2 separate regions of the Homo sapiens genome follow, and region 1 is linked to region 2. The links are contacts of gene promoters, found by promoter capture Hi-C in blood cells and fetal thymus (Javierre and others, 2016). All regions are on one chromosome and are shown on one strand. Each heading gives the region's core, a stretch centred on a gene start or on the middle of the fragment in contact. The rest is flanking DNA. Distances are from core to core; before and after follow the strand shown.

Evidence for each region. Contacts are between HindIII fragments. The CHiCAGO score rates a contact against its expected background, and 5 or more counts as called.
Region 1: a contact is called between a fragment that was not itself captured here and the fragment with the promoter of IL17REL in region 2, in 2 of 17 cell types (activated CD4 T cells and total CD4 T cells). The highest score is 5.7, in activated CD4 T cells.

Annotation. Positions count from the first base shown.
Region 1 is chr22:49,819,261-49,821,960 of GRCh38, reverse strand. All of the region lies in intron 2 of BRD1 (bromodomain containing 1), which reads left to right. Among named protein-coding and RNA genes, the nearest start is that of BRD1, 7.3 kb to the left of the region's middle. The HindIII fragment of the contact is 187 bases long and covers 1,333-1,519 here.
Region 2 is chr22:50,011,372-50,014,071 of GRCh38, reverse strand. It overlaps IL17REL (interleukin 17 receptor E like), which reads left to right and starts at 1,307. Exons shown (of 15, transcript NM_001371417.1): 1 at 1,307-1,527. The coding sequence starts at 1,426. RefSeq lists an enhancer at 822-1,422. The HindIII fragment of the contact is 1,957 bases long and covers 673-2,629 here.

The sequences.
Region 1 (2,700 bases), core at 177-2,676, 190 kb after region 2:
CAGATGCCCTGAGGAAAGGGTGGCCAAACAAGGGGAGGAGCTGTGAGCACAGATGGGGCCTGCCGGTCAACAGGGCGGGTAGAGCCAGCCTGGTGCTGAGCTTGCAGCTTGGCTGGGGGAGACGCCTAGAGCCCCAGTACCACACAGACCCTCCAGGACTGCCGGGGGTCAGTGAGCAGGACCCTCTGAGGTGTCAGACCTGCCCCACATGTGAGGGGAGGACAGCACAGGTGGGACGCATGCAGGCTGAGCTGCATCGGGCGGTGAGGCTGGGAGGTTGCAGTGAGCTAAGATTGTGCTACTGTACCGCAGCCTGCGTGACAGAGTGAAACTGTGTCTCAAAAAAAAAAAAAGAAGTTTTAAGTGATTTTTGTTAATATTACTCTACTTTACCAAAGTGAAGTCCAGTTTCTTTTCACAGAGCTGTAAATACTCAGATAATTAGTCAATTCAGACAGAATGAACAAAAAATGCTCATAATCCTTCCCATCCAGGGAAAACCCTGTCAAAACCAAGGTGTTTGTCTTTGTAAATTAATCTGACTTTGAAGAGATGGTTTTGCTTGGATTTCTACCTATGAGTCAAAAAGTCTAGGGTTTGTATTAAGAGCTTCTGTATAAGAGGTCTAAAAATTTCAGCTTTACTGAAATTGAAGCAAAATAAACAAAATGTGATCTAACAAAATGAAGAGCCAAAAGTCTGAAGTGCTCCCTTCCCTGGCCAGTACCAGATGATGACCTGCTCTGGGAGAGGCCGGGCCTGGCCGGGCCGCACGCTCTCTGTTCTTTGGCTCCTGATGTTGGGTAGGCAGGACTGAAGGAGGCAGTGTTTGCATGCAGGACATGGGGGCTGAAGTGGCCAGGGCTGATTGAGAAGAAAACTCGACCTAAATATTTGAAAGCATGTATTGGAGCTAAACCGCGTACTGTGTGGTTCTGTTCTTTTCCTAACTTGGGAATAAACTATTATTTCAGCTTCGAGTAGAGAGAGAGAAACAAACCTGGACGAGTGTTCCTGGCCGCGGTCTCTGCAGTCTGGGTTTCCCAGTCTCCAGGAGATGCTGGTGCTTCAGGCCACCTTGCCACCAGTGGAGGAGCTCCCAGTGCGCCTGGCCTGTTGGCACCATGGTGCTGGACCCACCTCTGGGGTGGTTGTGAGGGGCAGGCTCTCAATACAGTACTGACTGCTGCCTGAAACCGGGTTTACTGCCTTGCTGTGGTCTGAGAGGCAGCTGATCTGGCAGCCCTGTTCTTAGGCCCTGGGCACTACCCCTGGGTGCATGTAGGAGGCCTCAGCTGTGCATTTGAATTCTGTGTAGATGAGGGTGAAGCTTCTTATTTTTTATTTTATGTTTAGAGACAGGGTCTTGTTCTGTTGCCCACGTTGGAGTGCAGTGGCGTGATCATGGCTTACAGTAGCCTCAAACTCTTGGACTCAAGCGATCTTCCCGCCTCAGCCTCCTCCCAGCCTCAGCTGGGAATACAGGCACGAGCCACTGTGCCTGGCCCATGGTGAAGCTTCTTGATGTGCAGCCGTGGGCGGGGATGCTGAGTCTAGTTGGTTATGGTGTGCACTAACCAATGGCTCCGGTGTAGGACCCACCTAGAGCATCTGAGGATGTTATGCTTCAGGCCAGCCAGTCACGCTGGAAGGGAGATGAGACCCCATCTGAGCAGCGTTTTAGAGATTTTAGAGAAAGAGGATCTTCCTTATTCCCTGTGGACAGAACAGAATCTGCCTTCAGGGACGGACTGCTTTTATAATTCTAGTGGTTTAAAAAATTAAAATTTCAAGTAAAAAAGATAGTTCTTTTTTTTCCCCCCTTTTTTTTGAGGTGGAGTCTTGCTTTGTTGCCCAGGCTGCAGTGCAGTGCGGTGATCTTGGCTCACTGCAACCTCCACCTCCTGGGTTCAAGTGATTCTCCTGCCTCAGCCTCCTGAGTAGCTAGGATTACAGGCACCTGCCACCACACCCGGCCGATTTTTGTATTTTTAGTAGAGACGGGGTTTCACCATGTTGGCCAGGCTGGTCTTGAACTGCTGACCTCAGGTGATCCACCCGCCTCGAACTCCCAAAGTGCTGGGATTACAGGCGTGAGCCACTGCGCCAGGCTAAAAGAGATAGTTTTAAGGTTATAATCTGTTTTTTTGTAAGTTTGATATACTATGATTAAATAATAACAGCGGTAAATAAACACTTTGAAAAACAGGCAGGGCTGGGTGTGTGGCTCACACCTGTAATGCCAGCACTTTGGGAGGCCGAGGTGGGTAGATCACGAGGTCAGGAGTTCGAGACCAGCCTGGCTAACATGGTGAAAACCCATCTGTACTAAAAATATAAAAATTAGCCAGGCGTGGTGGTGCGCGCCTGTAATCCCAGCTATTCAGGAGGCTGAGGCAGGAGAATCTCCTGAACAGAGTCCTGCTCTTCTGCTCAGACGGGTGCAGTGGCATGGTTATGGCTCACTACAGCCTCGACCTCCTGGGCTCAAGCGACTCCCCCACCTCAGCCTCTTGAGTAGCTGGGACCACAGGCATGTGCCACCATGCCCTGCTAATGTTTTTATTTTTTGGTGAGATGGGGTCAAGCAATCTGCCTGCCTCGGCCTCCCAAAGTGCTGAGATTACAGGCGTGAGCCACCATGCCTGGCCTTACATTGATTTATTGTTATTTTTTCTTTTCTGTTCTTCTTTTTTTTCC
Region 2 (2,700 bases), core at 58-2,557:
GCTGCTGACCATGCCGTGGCATGGAGGCTGGCACTAGCCACTCTCTCCAGGGCATTGTGGCCACAGGCACGCTGCTGCAGGGGGCGGGCTCAGCCCCATCTACTCTGCCCAGCAGTGAGTGCATAAGTTCCAGCCCATGGAGGGCTCTAGGCCAGGCGGGGGCAGGGTCGAGGTGCTGGCCCAGGAGGCAGGGAGGTGGGCAGTGCGGGGTGGTGGGAGGGAGGGAGGACTTCACGGTCACAGCAGCCCCTGCCGCCTTCCCTCCCCTGGGACCGAACCCCAGAGCTTGTTTCTCAAGCTCCCTCCTGACTACCCGAGCCCACAGTGTGAGGCCCACAGCCTCTCCCAGCCTGGGGGTGGTGCCGCCCTCCACACTTGGGGTGTCCTGTGGGTATTCCAGGCAGAACACCCCAGCTAGACACTCCCAGGCTCCCCAGCTATTAACTCCCGCCATCCCCCCCCCACACACACACAGACACACACACACACACACACACACACACACACACACACACACACACACACGTGGGGCAGTGCCCTCCCAGAACCTGAGGCAGGTGCAGAAGCCTCTGTGCCTGTCCAGGAAGGGAGGAGCCAGGAGGACCCAAGAACTGCACCCTGGTTCTCTCCAACCCCCTGCCCTGGCTGGAGGCAAATGGGAAGCAGTAAGCTTCTGCCCAGAAACTTTCCTATGCATTTGATGCTCCAAATAAGAAGATGACACAGAACGGCTCCCTGAGCAGAGGCTGGGCCCCAGAGTTCCCAGCCTCGGGGGGTGCCCTCCGGAGTGGGGGGGGGCTCATAGGGAGGACCACACAGGGGAGGTGGCCTTTTGCATCTTGAGGGGAGGTGGAGGCCAGGGACTTGGGTGGAATCTCAGGTCTTAGGAGAGGGCTCCCCTTAGGGGCTGGGGCTGAAGCCAGGGGCTCTGGGGTATGAGTGCCCAGGACAGATTCCACCCCTCTGCCAGCCCAGCCAGCTTTCCAGGGCCCTTGTCTACCCTCCTGGCCTCATGCATGCCTGAGGGAGGTGCACGCCGGCGGCAGCCTATCCCGCCGGCCTGGAGCCATCTCTGCACCAGTGGCCGCCCTGTGGGGAACCCCATTAGGGTGTCCTCGGACCCCAAAGGCCCCAAGGTTTCTGGATGCTTCCTTTGGAAACCTAGAAACTCCACAAGTGTCTGGCCACAGTCTTCTGGCCCCAGGCGGTGGAAAGTCTCCCGGGCTGCTGTCTGTGAAGCGAGCCCTGTTTTGCCGGGAGGGGGAGTGTCTCGCTCGCTCCAGCTGTGAAGAGCAGCCTCCACCCTCTGTTTGTCTTTGGGGCTGGAGCTGCAGGGTCAGCCTGGAGCCGCTGCCACAGGGCATCCTGCAAACTTGCCCCACTCACATCCACGCTTACCAGTGGGAGCTCTCACTGCACAGCCAGATGCTGGCTGGGCAAGCACTCGCGTTCTTGGGCCTGACCTGGGGCACTTTCCAGAGCCTGGCCATCCCCCGGATTACAGAATGTGGCCTCTCCTGTTCTCAGGTAAGCTCCTGCCTCCTCCTAGGCCCCTACACTGTGGCAGATAAGGCCCTGGTTTCTCCTCAGGTGGGTCTGGCCTGACGCTCTCAGCACATCAGCAGGTGAGGGGTTGCAGGGCCCTGGGGGGTCCGAGGGCAGCGCTGGTGAAAGAAGGATGGGAGACCTGGCCTGACCCTGCCGAGCTGCTCCGGGAAGTGTTTGCTGGAAGCTCAAGGCAGGGTGAGCCCACCTCGGACCCACCTGTGACCTCCAAGGAGGCTGTGTTAGAATCTAGGGCAGCCCGCAAGCCCATCCGGGGCTCCCACCCCACCCCGCTCGGCTGCTCTGAGCCATCGGGAGCCCGCAACACCTGGGCTTGTGTAGACACCTGCCAAGGAAACACTCGGAGAACGTGCTGAGAATGAGATGTTGGCAGTGGAGGTGGCTGGGTTGGGGTGGAGGGCTCTCACTGCACAGCCCACTCACTCAGCCTTACAGGAGAGGGCGCTTCATCAGCACCTGCAGCAGGAAGTGTACCCAGCATCCCAGGAAGGGGCCCCGGTGCCCAAGGCTGGCCGGGCACAGTGGGGACACAGGCATGGAAAGGGCACAGAAGGTGTCCCGGAAAGGGAGGACTCACTGAGGACCTGCTGGGTGCACCGTTCCTGGCATGGGGACAGCAGTTAGCAAGATGTGCCTTTAGGGTGGTGGCCTGGTCACCTCAGGGGACACTTGCGGGGACATCCAGCAGCTCCACAGGGCCTGAGACGGGTCCAGCAGAGGGCTCAGCTCAGGGAGGGGAGCAGCAAGGGCTGGAGTGCTGGGTGCCATGGGCAGGCTCAGATCCACAGGGCATTCGTGGAACAAGGAAGAAAGCAGGCTGGGATGCGTGGGAACCGGTGGCAGCAGGGGAGATGGGCGGGTTCAGGTGGGAGGGGTGTCCACCGGATGCCACCCTGCAGTGGAGATGGAAAACAGGGAGGGGGCAGGCCTGGGGATCCTGGCTAGGAGGGGGAAGGAGAAGCGAGAGATGAGACCTCAGAATCGACTTTTGCCTCTGGGAGGAAATGGTCCCTGAGTTGGGAGACATGGGGGGAGGCGGCCTTGAAGTGCAAGCTGGAAAGCTTTGCTGAGGCGGCTGCGGGGTATGCAGGCAGCCTCCCGGTCCGAGGTGTGACCGCGCTGTCCACGCTAGGA